Regions from separate parts of the Homo sapiens genome. Here region 1 is linked to region 2. Evidence: promoter capture Hi-C in human tissues and cell types (Jung and others, 2019). All regions are on one chromosome and are shown on one strand. The core of a region is centred on a gene start or on the middle of the fragment in contact, and the rest is flanking DNA. Distances in the headings are between cores, read along the strand shown. Region 1 has its middle 21 kb from the start of OR6B3. Region 2 holds the start of OR6B2 (olfactory receptor family 6 subfamily B member 2).

Evidence for each region. Contacts are between HindIII fragments. The study calls those that stand out against the background at their distance.
Region 1: a contact is called between a fragment that was not itself captured here and the fragment with the promoter of OR6B2 in region 2, in 2 of the 25 tissues and cell types used here (dorsolateral prefrontal cortex and liver).

The regions. Positions count from the first base shown.
Region 1 is chr2:240,070,540-240,077,825 of GRCh38, forward strand. No RefSeq gene overlaps it. Among named protein-coding and RNA genes, the nearest start is that of OR6B3, 21 kb to the left of the region's middle. The HindIII fragment of the contact is 5,248 bases long and covers 1-3,874 here.
Region 2 is chr2:240,028,222-240,035,470 of GRCh38, forward strand. It overlaps OR6B2 (olfactory receptor family 6 subfamily B member 2), which reads right to left and starts at 2,208. Exons shown (of 1, transcript NM_001005853.1): 1 at 1,270-2,208. The coding sequence starts at 2,208. The coding sequence ends at 1,270. The HindIII fragment of the contact is 5,539 bases long and covers 1,285-6,823 here.

The DNA.
Region 1 (7,286 bases), core at 1-2,500, 41 kb after region 2:
CATGCCCAGCTAATTTTTTTTGTATATTTTGTAGAGATGGGGGTTTCACCAAGTTGGCCAGGCCAGACTCCTGACCTCAAGTGATCTGCCCCCCTCGGCCTCCCAAAGTGCTGGGATTACAGGCATGAACCACTGCACCTGGCCTGGAGGATCAGATTTATAGAAACCCTCATGCCACCATTTTGGAAGTCCGGCCTCTGAATTCATTATTCACTGCTGTGTTTCTTGAACATTTATTTTTCTTAAATTGATGTTTTATCCCAAGTCAAGCATCATTTGGTCAAATTTCTAGTAATTTTAAAAAATGGATTCACGAAAGGTAAACTTTCCAACAGCTTCTATATTCCAAGATAAACACGGAATATGATTTAAAACTTCAAAAAAAGAATTATCAGTGGCCAAAAAATGTAAGAAAATATGATTGACATCACTTAAAATTAAGTGAATACGGTTTGACAAATAACATTGAAGTATTATTTTTTCTTCGGGCCTGTCAGAGTAGCTGAAATTCAAAAATACTAATTAAATTTAATCATCACAGGTTGTGGGGAAATAGGCCAACTCAGCACTTTGAAGTGTTAATTAGCATTTCATGTTTGGAGGATAATTTATCAGCCCTTGTAAAAGGAACCTACCTTCTGACACTCTTCATCTATTATTATGAATCTCGCCTCCAAAAATCATTGTTCTGGTGCAGACAGACTTTTGTTGCAGTCCCTTAGGAAACAATGGAAATATAAGAAACAAATTATAAATATATAAGAAACAACTTATAAATCTTTCAGTAGGGGCCGGGCATGGAGGCTCAGGCCTAGAATCCCAGCACTTTGGGGGGCCAAGGCAGGCAGATCACCTGAGGTCAGGAGTTCGAGACCAGCCTGGCCAACATGGTGAAACCCCATCTCTACTAAAAATACAAAAATTAGCCGGGCATAGTGATGTGCACCTGTAATCCCAGCTACTCGGGAGGCCGAGGCAGGAGAATCACTTGAACCCGGGAGGCAGAGGTTGCAGTGAACTGAGATCGGGCCACTGCACTCCAGCCTGGGTGACAGAGTGAGACCCTGCCAAAAAAAAAAAAAAAAATCTTTCAATAGGACATTGGTTAAATAAAGCATGTAAACTGTAGTCCACCCATATAGAGAAAAACTGTGACTCTGTCAGAAAAAGAGAGGGAGAAAATAACAGACAGACACAGAGATAGGCACCCAGAAATATATAATCTGGAGGAATATGCAACAAAGCGTTTAGAACATATAAATAAAACATGGAAAATGGGTTTGGGTATTTATGGGGAATTGTCATAATAGCTGTAGCTGTCTGTTAGTTCATATTTTTTAAAACAATAAGTTTATCGATTCAGCTATCTTATTTCTTGGAAACACAGTCACATGGAAAGAAGTCTATAAATTTATAAGAATAAGAAATGAGACACTGAAGCCCCCTCTTACTTTCCAATCTCCCTTTTCCTTCCCCATTATCCTTGGCAGAAGTAAGTGATGTAAATAGACTTACATCACCCAGTTATTTGCCTTTGCATTTATATACATTGATTTTCACATGGATATGTATTGAATATTTTTAACATGAATGAAGTTATCCTACATATGCTAAAACTTGTGTTATTGTTTTCGCTTTTCTTTTCTTTTCTTTGAGTTAGGTTCTCACTCTGTTGTCCAGGCCGAAGGGCAGTGGCATGATCACAGCTCACTGCAGCCTCAACCTCCTGGGCTCAAGCGATCCTCCCACCTCATTCTCCCAAGTAGCTGGGTCTACAGGTGTGCACCACCATGCCCGGCTAATTTTCGTATGTTTTGTAGAGGTGGGGTTTTGCCGTGTTGCTCAGGCTGGTCTCGAACTCCTAAGCTCAAGCAATCTGCCCACCTCGGCTTCCCAAAGTGCTGAGATTACAGGCATGAGCCACTGTGCTGGGCCTTGTTTCCACTTTTAAATGTCTTAATGATGCAGGTTATGACTGGAAATAAGTTAGATATTATAAGAGAAAGAAAAAGATGTTTTTAAGAATTTCAGATGTTTGGCTTGAGTGATGAATGGAAGATCCAGAAATGAAATAAAGAAGAGATTGGGAAGGAAAGATTAAGAGAGGATTTTTTTGGATAGGTCCATTATGAGAGATCTCTGAGATAACCAAGTGAAGATGACATTCTTATCAAAAACCAGGTGCCAGCGATCCTTTTAATGTTTGACAAACTTATGAACAAAACATAACTATTTCGGGTTTTATTTTCCCCAATCATTGAAATTTAATGTCTCTTCATTGAGGTTGAGCATATTTAACCTCATAGTTTACTTTGTTCATGGAAAATTGATGTTTATCATTGAGACTTACAATCTTTTCATGTTGATCGTTCATTTGTATTTCCTCTCCTATATTTGTGCGTTTCTAACCTTTGTCCATCTCCAGTTAGTTTTGTTTTGTTTTGTTTTTTTGAGATGGAGTCCAGTCTGTCCATCTCAATGGACAGACGGGGTTTCACGGTGTTGGCCAGGATGGTCTCGATCTCCTGACCTCATAATCCACCTGCCTCGGCCTCCCAAAGTGCTGGAATTACAGGTGTGAGCCACCACGCCTGGCCTTCCAGTTAGTTTTTTAAAAATCTTTTTCTTATTGATGTGTAAGAATTCTCAATATATCCCAATAATTATTTTTCACTCGCCTAGCATGTTTTGGATATTGTTTCCAGGTTTTTCTATTTATCTACCAACTTCATCTGTAGTGTCCTTCATTATAGAGAAGCTTAAATTTTTTTTATTTCCTCTAAGATTTGTAGCTTTATAAAAAAAACTTCTCTACTCCAAGACCACAAAAATATTCTTCTATTTATTTGTATTACTTTTATATTTTGATTTCAATCCATCTGGAGTTTATTCTTTGTATTATTTGAGGTAGGATTCTCACTTTTCCCCCAAGTAAAAAGCCTATTGCCCCAAACTCCACTGGTCTGAAATCCCATGTTTACAAACATCTGTTTTGGACTCTAGAGGTTGTTCTACTGATCTGTTTGTCTATTTCTCCACTAACAATTTAGTTTCAATTAACATATCTGACTTATTTAGGATGTTTTTGGCTGAAAGCAACCAATATTTGACTAAAAGTGGTTTAAAATTAATAGTGCTATTACCATGCATAACAAGCCCAGGACTGGTTGGTCTGAAGGTTGTTTCAAGTGCTCAGAGGTGCAGGTTTTTTCTTCCTCCTCCTCGCCCCTCCTCAGAGTGTTGACTTTCATGCTCAGGGTGGTTGACTCATGGCATGAAGATGGCTACCGTAGCTCCAGACATCATACCTTGCTCCCACAAAGCCACAGACAGAAAGGAAGGGCACATGGAGAAAAGTCCTGTTACTTATGGTTCAAGTAGCTGTGAGTGATGGAAAACCCAAACAACAGTGGCTTAAATAAAAGAAAGGGTCATTTTTTTTGAGACGGAGTCTCAATCTGTTGCCCAGGCTGGAGTGCAGTGGTGCAATCTGGGTCACTGCAACCTCCGCCTCCTGGGTTCAAGCGATTCTCTTGCCTCAGCCTCCCGAGTAGCTGGGACGTGACACCACGCCCAGCTAGTTTTTGTATTTTTAGTAGAGATGGGGTTTCATCATGTTGGCCAGAATCATCTCAATCTCTTGACCTCATGATCTGCCCGCCTCGGCTTCCCAAGTGCTGGAATTACAGGTGTGAGCCACCACGCCCGGCCAGGGTCGTTTATTTTTATGTGAAGTTCCTGGCAGGTGGTGCAGCACTGGTGCATGATGGTAACTCACATTCCTTCTGCCTTTTTGCTCCACCAATGTTGAACTTGAAGTCCTGGCTCCACATGGTGACATCTGCCTAATAAATAGCAGGCTAAAGGAAGAGAAAAATGAGAGGGCAGCAGACATATCGTGCTGTGTCTTTGGAAGGTTCTGGGACGCTGTTGTGTGACACTTTGGCTATACTACTTTAACTGCAACTTGGTTACATGACCACAGTGTTTTGCAGGAGGATGAAAGCTCCTGTCTTTATTCTGGGTGAATATGCAACAGCTATCAACAAGGATTCTATTACAACATCACACAAGGAAATCAGTGTTAAAGGACAGCCATTAATCTCTTCTACAGAGTCTATCTTGCCCTACTGTCGCTTTTGATCAGGAGGAAAGTATTTCCCAGATGATTTCCAAATGATGAATCACAACTGCATCAAATATGGATACTGCAGCTGCAAGGGGGACCGAGCGCTGGCATCTGCATGTCTGGTCTCTGTCATGGAAGGGTGGCGATGCTAATCGCCTGATAACAGACCAAATGGTTGACTTTCTAGGAAGCCAACAGCACCAGAAATCACTACTTTTGTAATAAATGTCAACATCTGGTTGAAAAAAAATCCCACCTCATTGTTCTTTTTCAAACTTTTGTCATTTTTGCACCTTTTCTCTTTATGATTGACATTGGAATTTATGTGGCTTGTAAAATGCATGCAGCTTGTAAAATTTTAGTTTGTCTAGGCTTCATTTTATGATGGGATTGGACTAAGTGAACTTCTGAATATTTCCAGGTTCTCTGATTCTAGTCCCATGAGATATTGAGCTATGTGGACCCCAGTGTTTTGATGGCTTAGACAAAGGAGGAGCTTTGCATGGGGATGGGTTGCTCATCTGGGCCTATGGATGGTGAGGCCTGCCTTTGCAGATGCGGGTGGTTTGGCAACTTGAATCCCTTAGAAGATGCAGCTGGCCAAGCTATCTCACTAGAGGCTGGGGCCAAAAGCCCAGGATCCTTATGATCTGCTGTCTGACTGCATGTGCTTACTGAGCCGGCTGCCAGCCAGGCCCAGCTCATTAGGATCTTCATGTTGTCTAGGCTGAGGTCTCCAGGGTTTACTTCCCTCTCCTTTCTGTCTCAGAATCCAGATTCCCTAAGGGCCTTTCTTTGGCCAAACTCTACCCACGTTTGATTAGCTCATTAGAAACTCCTTAATGAGGCAAGAGTTTCAAGCTTGTTAGTTTGCCTGTTAGTCTGCACAGAGTTAGTCTGAAGGTAGAACCCCGGGGGAGTATGTTACTTTCAGGTTGCAAAAAACAAGCACTGGGATTCTTAGTAAACAGTTCAAAGTGATGGCTGACTCACTTCTTATAGGACTAGAATAGAGACAGATAGCAAAGGACAGCTTTAATTCATTTGAAAGGTAATAAAAAATTCATAATAAATATCAAAATACTTGGCTGACATAAGTGTCATTGATTATGTCATTATACAAATTAAAGCCGTATTGTATCAAGATGGCTGAATACGCATATTTTCTTTTCTCTCTCCCACACCAGATCCCAGTAGATAATACAAAAGATAGTTTCTGAATGTAATAAATCCATAATCATTTGGAAAATCAAGAAAAAATGTCATCAGCAAGAAGGCATTTTGAAGAATTCTTCAGAAAGGAAAAAAAATCTGTAGAGTAAGCGATACAGTACAAAGCCCCAAATATATACAGAAGATTGCTAAGGGGTGGGCATGGCGGGGCTGTATGAACAGATGCAGGACACAGGAAGAGACTCTGGGCCATCCACCAGGTGATGCTCTTGGGAGCTACTTTTGGACCAATCTGGATCAGTCAGCTCTTCCCCAGTTTTCTCATAGGGTATAAGAAGGTGCCTATCCACAGGTTTAAAGAGTGGTGCTTTGCAGGAACTGGAGACAGAGAAAGGTATGTCCCCAGATGTGTGCACAGACATCACAAGACAAGATTCTGGCCCATCCCCTTTATCAAATAAACAATGAGACAGTTGTACATGGTGTATTCCAGAAAAGTAAATGTTTTCAAGAAAGATGAAGACAGGTAAAAGAGATCATGGTGAAAAACAAGAAAGTAAAATATATTTTAAGCCTCATGACTTTTGATACAGAATGTAATACAATGTTTATATTTTTAAATCTAAGCTGCTGAAGGATGTTAATATTAGGGTGGTGGTCTAAGGGGAAGATCATGTTAATGTTCTGGGTTTCTTGAGGAATGGAGATTCTGATTCACTCCAGACATCAATACAAAGTATATATTTAACATATATATTAAAAATGTAAGAGTAACTACTGGAAAAATAGAAATAAATGTGTAATATACAAATATTGAGAATAAAAAGTGGAAGAAAAGACTCAATGATTTGTACAAAAATTAGTAAGAAAAGAAGTAAGATGGCCAACACAAAATACAAGAAAATATATGAGTTATAAGTTTAAAAATATCAAAAGCCCAACAAAGATAAATGTAGTAAATTAGCCTATTCAGAGGAAATGGCTCCCAGAATGGTAAAACAAACAAACAACTACTTGTTTTTTGATGAGATATATTTAAAACAAAATGACACAGAAAGTTCAAAAAGAAAAGAATGGAAAATGATAAAACGAGAATTCTGTTCCTAGCAATGGAAGGGAAAAACTACACAAATCCTCTTGATGAAATATGAAATATTTAAAAATATTTTTACATTGTTTAAAATAATTAGTGACTAGGATAGTAATGATTAGGGGACTGAGATAGAAATGTAGATTAAACCAAGATAGGTGAGAATAAAATGTATTGGGGCTTTTTCCTTTGTGAAAATTGGCAACGGCTAAAGTTGCTACTGAGATGCTGAAAAGTAACTAGCATTCATGGGTTTAGTGGACAAAAATTGGCACCTAATAGAGGGGTATTTGAAGAGCAATATCCTAGAAGTAGCAGTAAACTAAAAGCAGACTAGATTTCACAAGGTTTCACACTATCTCCCAAATTCAAATCTCATCAATTTCTGATTGAATTAGTGTGGTCAGAGATTGCTTGTCTGGATGGTGATATCATCCAGAGCCTGAAATTATCCACACATTTTAAGATATACAATATTTGGTATGTAATCAAAAGTAACCAGTCTCACAGAAAAATAACAAAAAACAAGGAGAAACAGTAACCATTAGGAGCAGATTCACAGAATCCATCAGACATGTACTTCAAAATAAGTATGATTAGTATGTTTCAGGAATTAAAAAATAAAATAATTGTAATTAAGAACTCAATGAATCATTTTAACAACAGATTAGATGTAGCTGCAGAGAGAATTAGTTAACTGGAATATAGATCAAAAGAAAATATCCACACTTAAGCATGAAGAGACAAAAGAATTTAAAAATGCTGAAAAAGTAGAAAAGATATAGGGAATAATATGGTAATAAGGCTGAACATATGTAAGAGTGCAGTCCTTGAGTGCAGGAGTGAGAGAATGAGCTGGAAGCAATGTTTGAAAAAATAATAGGTGAGAGTTTT
Region 2 (7,249 bases), core at 958-3,457:
ACTAACAACAAACAGAAGGAAACTGAAATAAAAGATGGAATACCATTTACAGTTGCTTCAAAGAAAATATAATATTTAGGTCTAAATCCAGCAAAACACACACAGAATCTGCATATTAAAAAGTACAAAACACTGATTTAAAGAATGAAGACCTCAATAATTGGAGGGGTTTACTATGTTCATGGATTGAAAGACTCAACAGAGTAATGAAGTCAGTTCTTCCCAAATTGATTTTTAGGTTTAATGGAATTTCTAGCAAAATCTCAGCGAGGTTCTCTTGTAGACATTGACAGGCTTACTATAAAATTTATATAAAAATATAAAGGCTGTACAATAGCCACAATAATTTTGAAGCAGAAGAATAAAGTGGGAGGAGTCACTCTTCCAGTGTTAAGATTTACTACATAATCATATAAATCAAGACTGTGTTGTATGGATGGAGGGTGTGATATTGATAGATACGTAGATCAATTTAACAGAACAGAGGATCCAGAAATAAGCCAGCACAAATATTCTCAACTGACGCAGTAGTGCACCACACAATGACATTTGGTGAATGATGAACTGAACGGCACATAAGATGGTGGTCCCATAAGATTATGACATTATATTTTGACTTACCTTATCTGTGTTTAGATGCATAAATTATGGATGAGCACAGTGGCTCACACCTGCTGGGACAGGTGGGACAGGGTTTCACCCAGCATAATGTATTATGTATATATAATACACAATACAGTATATGCATTATCCCAGTATATGTATTATCCCAGTATGAATGTATTATGCATTGTGTATTATACAGTATAAATGTATTATTTATTATGAATATTGGATAGCAATGAGAATGCATGAATTATTGTTACATGCAAAAACATCAAGGATTCACTCAAGCAACACGGTGAATGAAAGAAGCTGAACATAACAGGGCACATACTTTATGTGTAAGCCCCTCAGAAACACCAATGCTAGCATCTGGTTTTGGAAGTCAGGACAGTGCTTTTTGTGGAGAAGGGTTAATGACTGGGAGAGGGCGTGAAGGCAGCTTCTAGTTCTTGATCTGGGAGCTGGTTCCATGAGCACAGTCCTTTTGTGAAAACATATGCAGACGAAGGCTTGTTACTTGTGCACAGTTGTGTAGGTTTGTTAAATTTCACTTAGTTCTGTAGGTTTGTTAAATTTAACTTAAAAATTAATTTAAAGAGCACAAAGTGCCACATACAATGTTGTTTCATCACTACAGATTTTACTCTAGGACATTTAGTTGTCTTAGTGTGAAGTTTGACCCAAGCCCAAGGCCTTTTTCAAGGCGTCCTTAAATTCCTTGTTCCTCAGGCAGTAAATCAAAGGGTTAATTATTGGCGTGACAACAGTGTACACGGCAGAGATGAGCTTGTTGGAGCTCTGGGAATCAATGGCTTGGGGCCGGACATACATGAAAAGCAAGGCTGTATAGAAGACGGTGACCACGGTGAGGTGAGAGGCGCAGGTAGAGAAGGCTCTCCAGCAGCCGGTGGCCGAGGGGATGCGCAGGACAGCCAGGGTGATGTGCCAATATGACAGTATGGTGGCCAGGAGCGGAAACACCAGGATGATGAAGGCCAGGATGAAATCCACCAGCTCTGCAGTGGAGAAGTCCGTGCAGGCCAGCTTGAGGATGGGGGAAATGTCACAGAAGAAGTGGTTCAAGACGTTGGAGCCACAGAACGTGACGCTGGAGATAAAACAGACCTTGATCATGGAGATGGTGAAGCCACTCACAAAGGAGAAGCCCACCAGCTGGAGGCACAGCCCCGGGGTCACAAGGACGTGGTAGCGCAGCGGGTGGCAGATGGCCACGTAGCGGTCGTAGGCCATGGAGGCCAGAAGCACACACTCGGTGCACACCAGGGAGCTGAAGAAGTAGAGCTGCGTCATGCACCCGACGAAAGAGATGCGTTTCTGCTGGAGGAGGAAGCCCTCCAGCATCTTGGGGGTGATGTCAGACACGTACCAGATCTCCAGGAAAGACATGGAGCTCAGAAAGTAGTACATGGGCCTGTGGAGGGAGGTGCTGCTCCAGACGATGAGGATGATGGCCAGGTTCTCCACCAGGACAAAGAGGTAGGTGAGCAGGAAGAGGAGGAAGAGCAGGTACTGCAGCCCTGGGGCCGTGGGGAGGCCCACCAGGATGAAGGTGCTGACCTTGGTGACATTCTCCCCACTCATGCCTCTGTGCTTGGGAGCTGCAGGCCTACAAAACATCAAAGAGCAAGAGGAAAGGGCTGCAGGGCAGCTGAGGCAGAGAGAGAGTGGAGCTGGACTTGGATGGGGAGTTTTGGTGCAAAGAGAGGCCACGTGGCTCCCCAGAGCACCAGGAGAGAGCAGTGATCTGCTGATCTTCTGAGTTTTAAAGTAGAAAACTTCTGTGTGCTTGCATTTACATATAACCATGAAGTAGGAATGAGGAAGAGAGTATATGCTGAGGAACAGAGCCGGGCAGCTCCAGGGTGGGCAAAACCCAAAGCTCTGAGTCCAGGGGCACTACCAGTCCACACGTGCCTGGGGCAGCTCTCAAGATCCAAGTGGGCATGGACACAGAGCTGGCCCTCCTTAGGGTCCTTCATCTGAGGGTTCCTGCAAGTCGGGGCAGCAGCCTCGGCATGAGGTGAGGGGCTATCAGCCTACCAGGGCAGAACCCCAAACTGGGCTAACCAGCCGGAGGAATGCAGGGAGGGCTCCCAGGAAAGGGCTGCCTGGCTCTGGGGGACCTGGTCCACAGGTGGGGGAGAGAGAGGGTAGCCACAGCCCCTTGCCCCACAGGGCATCTGGTGGTTCTTTTCATTGGCAGTCTAGGTGGGTTGAATGGCAGACTTCCACCAGCTCACAGCTGGGGAGGGTGACCCCAGGTTTCTGGCCCAGGATGCTAAAAATTGATGAGAAGACTAGGAGAGGGCCAGGTGGGTGCCGAATAATCTGGAGTCTGTGCTGGGGAGGCGTGGTGCGCGGCACTTACTGGAGAGCCTCATGGTGACGTGTAGGGGGTTGGCTAGACAAGTCGAGTTCATGGAAGAGTTGCAGGCTGAAAAACAAACTTCTAGAAGGGAATTGCCCAGGGACAGGTTTACACTTGGAAACGCACCTGTACTCCTGCCGTCTAGGGTGAGCATTCTGTGGGAACCCAAGATCATCCACTGGGGCGGCATGGCCATTCCCTGCCTTAAAATGCCAGCGTGCAGTTCAGAGTTTAGGATCAATTTCACAAGCATTTACTACTCACTCCAGTCACCGCCTACTGTCTCCCCAAAACAAAAGCAATAAGAACCCCTGCCATTAAAGGGGTCTCAAGATGTGAGTCTGAATGTAGCCTCTCTAGACACCATCCAGGGTGGTGACTGTGTCCTCTTCCCAGCTGAGTGGCCACAGGGGGCTTTAAAGTCCACAAGGAGGAAAGTTGGGGTCCACAGGAGCTCCTTGGAAGGCCAGCAGCCCCCACCTGTTGACTGGGTTTGCTGGGGAGAGCTGGCGGTGGGGGTAGTGAGCTTTGGTTCTTGTGCTTTTAACCCAGAACAGTAGAGGCACCTATAGATTTCTCTTGATTATTTGGATAGTGGTAACTGATCATTAGTGAGTTGGCTAGTTAATACCGGATTGATTCATTAAATTGAAACTGTGTTACTTTACAAATTCAGGGCCCTTTACAGCACACTCTATCCATCCCCTGAACTTGTTAGACAATGGCTGCATTTTCTTTTAAATAAACTTTTTATTTTGGAATAATTTTAGATTTACAGAAAAGTTACAAAGAGAGTGCAGAGAGCTCTGGGAGATCCTCCATTCAGCTTCCTCCAAGGCTAACTTCCTACATGAAGAGGGTATATTTGTCACAGTAAGGGATTGATATTGGTATTACTGTGGACTAAACTCCAGACTTTGGCTTTCATCTTTTTTTCCCTCGAATGCCCGTTTCTGTTCCAGGGTACCCCATCGCTGCGGGCATGGCTGCCTTTTTAACTTGGCTGTACCTCCCTGGTTTCTGTGGACAGACTGAAAGTCCAAGCGGACGCTGCCGAGGGAGGCTGGCATCCTCTCATCGTAAACAAGGTTCTCCAATATGTTACAAAGACTGTTTTTGCCCAGTCACAAATTCAAACCTAGGTCTCCAATCTGAGAGAGGAAAGTGAAGCTTTCCGTACCACAGAACGGATGTATTTTGGGGTGGTCCGTGAGACGGGTACTGCAGTAGCTCCTCCCGGCTGCACCTACCATCAGCCTGCAGCCATTTACTCTGATGCCTTCCCTGGTGCCTGGCAGAGCCACCCAGAACCAGTCCTCGTCAATGATGAGTGAGCAAATGCTGTCTGCCCCATTCAGCCACCTGAGGCTGCTGGCTGATTCTGGGTATGATGTTAGACATCAGGGCATAACCCAATGCCTGTGAATATGTACCCAGCACAGTACTCAAAAATGCAAGGGCCATTTATGGAGCATCCATGAGCCATCCTGCTTGGTGCTGGCCGTGAGACTGCAGAGGGGAGTCCCTGCTCCAGACTGTATGTGGGGGGCATGTGGAGTGGGGATTGTCAATCACACACATAAAAGAAGAGCTCTCTCCCCATGCAAGGAATACAACGTACCCTAAAATCACAGCGAAAGGAGCCCATCGGCAACATGGAAAGTGCTGGATCCTACCTGGGGCGTCTGGAAGCCTCACTGCAAACGGCTGCAGCTGCCTGCAGGAGTGAAGAGTGGCTTCTGCCTGTGTCCAGCAACTCCCAGTCTGGCCACAGTGACCAGACGAGCCTTGAACATGCTCTTGAGAAGTGGGCTGCCTGAGGCACTGGGGAGAAACCACTGTGGCTTTTTCTGATGAGCATAGGGACTCCAGGGTCCAATTATCCCCCTGATGATGGAAAGGCCCACACTGCCAATTAGGTGAGCCTGTGCCTCTGGGGCCAGGCTGGCCCCTGCCTGGCTGAGGGCACCCAAGCAGAGGCTGTTGAGCCCGCTCCTGGCTCCCTGTTTGGGCCCTTCGCCCTCCTCAGTGGCTATCTATCTCCCACACTCCCTACTGGAGGAGCTGCTGTCCATGGGCCACCCTTGTTCCTGCACAGCCCGCACCCTCTGAGGGAAGAATTTGTCCCACCTGACCTCTGTTTCCTCTCTGGTCCAATTTTTCCGACCTCCCCTGTTCTCGCCACTCTAATTCCATGGCCCCAGGTGCTCCTCAGATAGGCTGGCTCCTGCCACCCCGCTTGGGGCTTTGGGACTCACTGTGCCCTCTGGAATGTTCTCCTTCCGCATCAGCCCGCCCCCTCCCTCACTTCCTACAATCCCACACCCAGCCAGGACATTCCTTTTTCCTCCCCTGCCAGATGAGGAAAGGGAGAAACCCTCTCTGGCCTCTCCCAGCTGCCAGGGGAGAAACCCTGTCTGGCCTCTCCCAGCTTCTGGGGGCTCCTGGCTTCAGGGTCTGTGGCACCAACACTTTGATCTCTGCATCTCAGGTCACGTCACCTCCCATGATCTGTGTGTCAGATCTCTTCTGTGTGTCTCCTTATATGAGTGTTTATTATTTTCAAATTTATGCATAATAGATGAATATGTTTTTGGAGTACATATGATAATTGAATGCAATTATAATTTGTAAATATCAAATCAGTGTAAATGGGCTATTCATCACCTGAAATATTTGTCTTTTCTTTATACCAGAAACATTCAAATTATTTCTCTTATGACTATTTTGAAATATGCAATAGATTACTGAAAACTATAGTCACCTTACTGATCTCTAATGCTCAGTCTTATTTCTTCTATCAAACTATACATCTGTATCCATTAATCAACCTCGCTTCATCCCGCAGTCCCCTATACCCTTCCCAGCCTCTCATAACCACCAATCTACTATTTCCATGAGATCCACTTTTTAAGCTCCCACATATGAGTGAGAACATGCGATATTTGTCTTTGTGCCTGGCTTATTTCACTTAACATAATGACCTCCAGTTCCATCCATGTTGCTGCAAATAACAAGATTTCATTCTTTTTATGGCTGAATAATATTCCACTGCATATAGTACCACTTTTTTTAATCCATTCATCCATTGAGGTGGACACTTAGATTGATTCCATATTTTGGCTATTGTGAATAGGGCTGCAATAAACATGGGAGTGCAGATATTTCTTCAATGTATTGATTTGCTTTCTTTTGGAGATATACACAGTAGTGGAAAGGTTGGATTTTATGGTAGTTCTATGTTTATTTTTTTGAGAAACCGCCATTGTGTTGCCTATAGTGGCTGTACTGATGCCCACTTTCACCACTTTTGTTCAATCGTAGTACTGGAAGTCCTAGTCAGAGCAATCAGGCAAGAGAAAGAAATAAAAGGCATCCAAATTGGAAAGGAGGAAATTATATTAGTCTTGTTTGCAGACAACATGATCTGATAGTTTGAAAAACCTAAGAACTCCACCAAAAATAATGTATATTCATCAACAATGAATGAGGGTTCTGCTTTCTCTACATTCTCACCAAAAACTATTATTCCCTGTCTTTTTTAAAATAAAAGCCATTTTAAATGGGATGAGATGGCATCTCACTGTGGTTTTGATTCACATTTCTGTGATTATTAGTGATGTTGAGCATTTTTTTACAAACCTGTTTGCCATTTGTATGTATTCTTTTGAGAAATATATATTCAGATCTTTTGCCCATTTTTAAATGAGATCATTTGGGTTTTTTGCTTTTTTTTTGCCACTGAGTTGTTTGAGCTCCTTATATATTCTGGTTATTAATCCCTTGTCAGATAGATAGTTTGTAAACATTTTCTGTGGGTCGTCTCTTCACTCTGTTGATTGTTTCCTTTGTTGTGTAGAAACTTTTTAGTTTGATGTAATCTTATTTCTCTGTTTTTGCTTTGGTTGCCTGTTCTTTCCAGGTCTTACACAAGATCATTCTTTGCCCAGACCAATGTCCTGGAGTGTTTCCGCAATGTTTTCTTCTAGTGGTTTTATAGTTTTGAGTCTTAGATTTAAGTCTTTAATCCATTTGGATTGAATTTTTGTATGTGGTGAGAGATGGGGGTCTAGTTTCATTCTTCTGCATATGGATATCCAGTTTTCCCAGCACGATTTATTGACGAGACTATCCTTTCCTCATCATATGTCTTTGGCACCTTTGTTGAAAAGGAGTTCACTGTAAATGTGTGGATTTATATCTGGGTTCTCTATCCTGTTCCATTGGTCTATGTGTCTGTTTCTATGCTAGTAA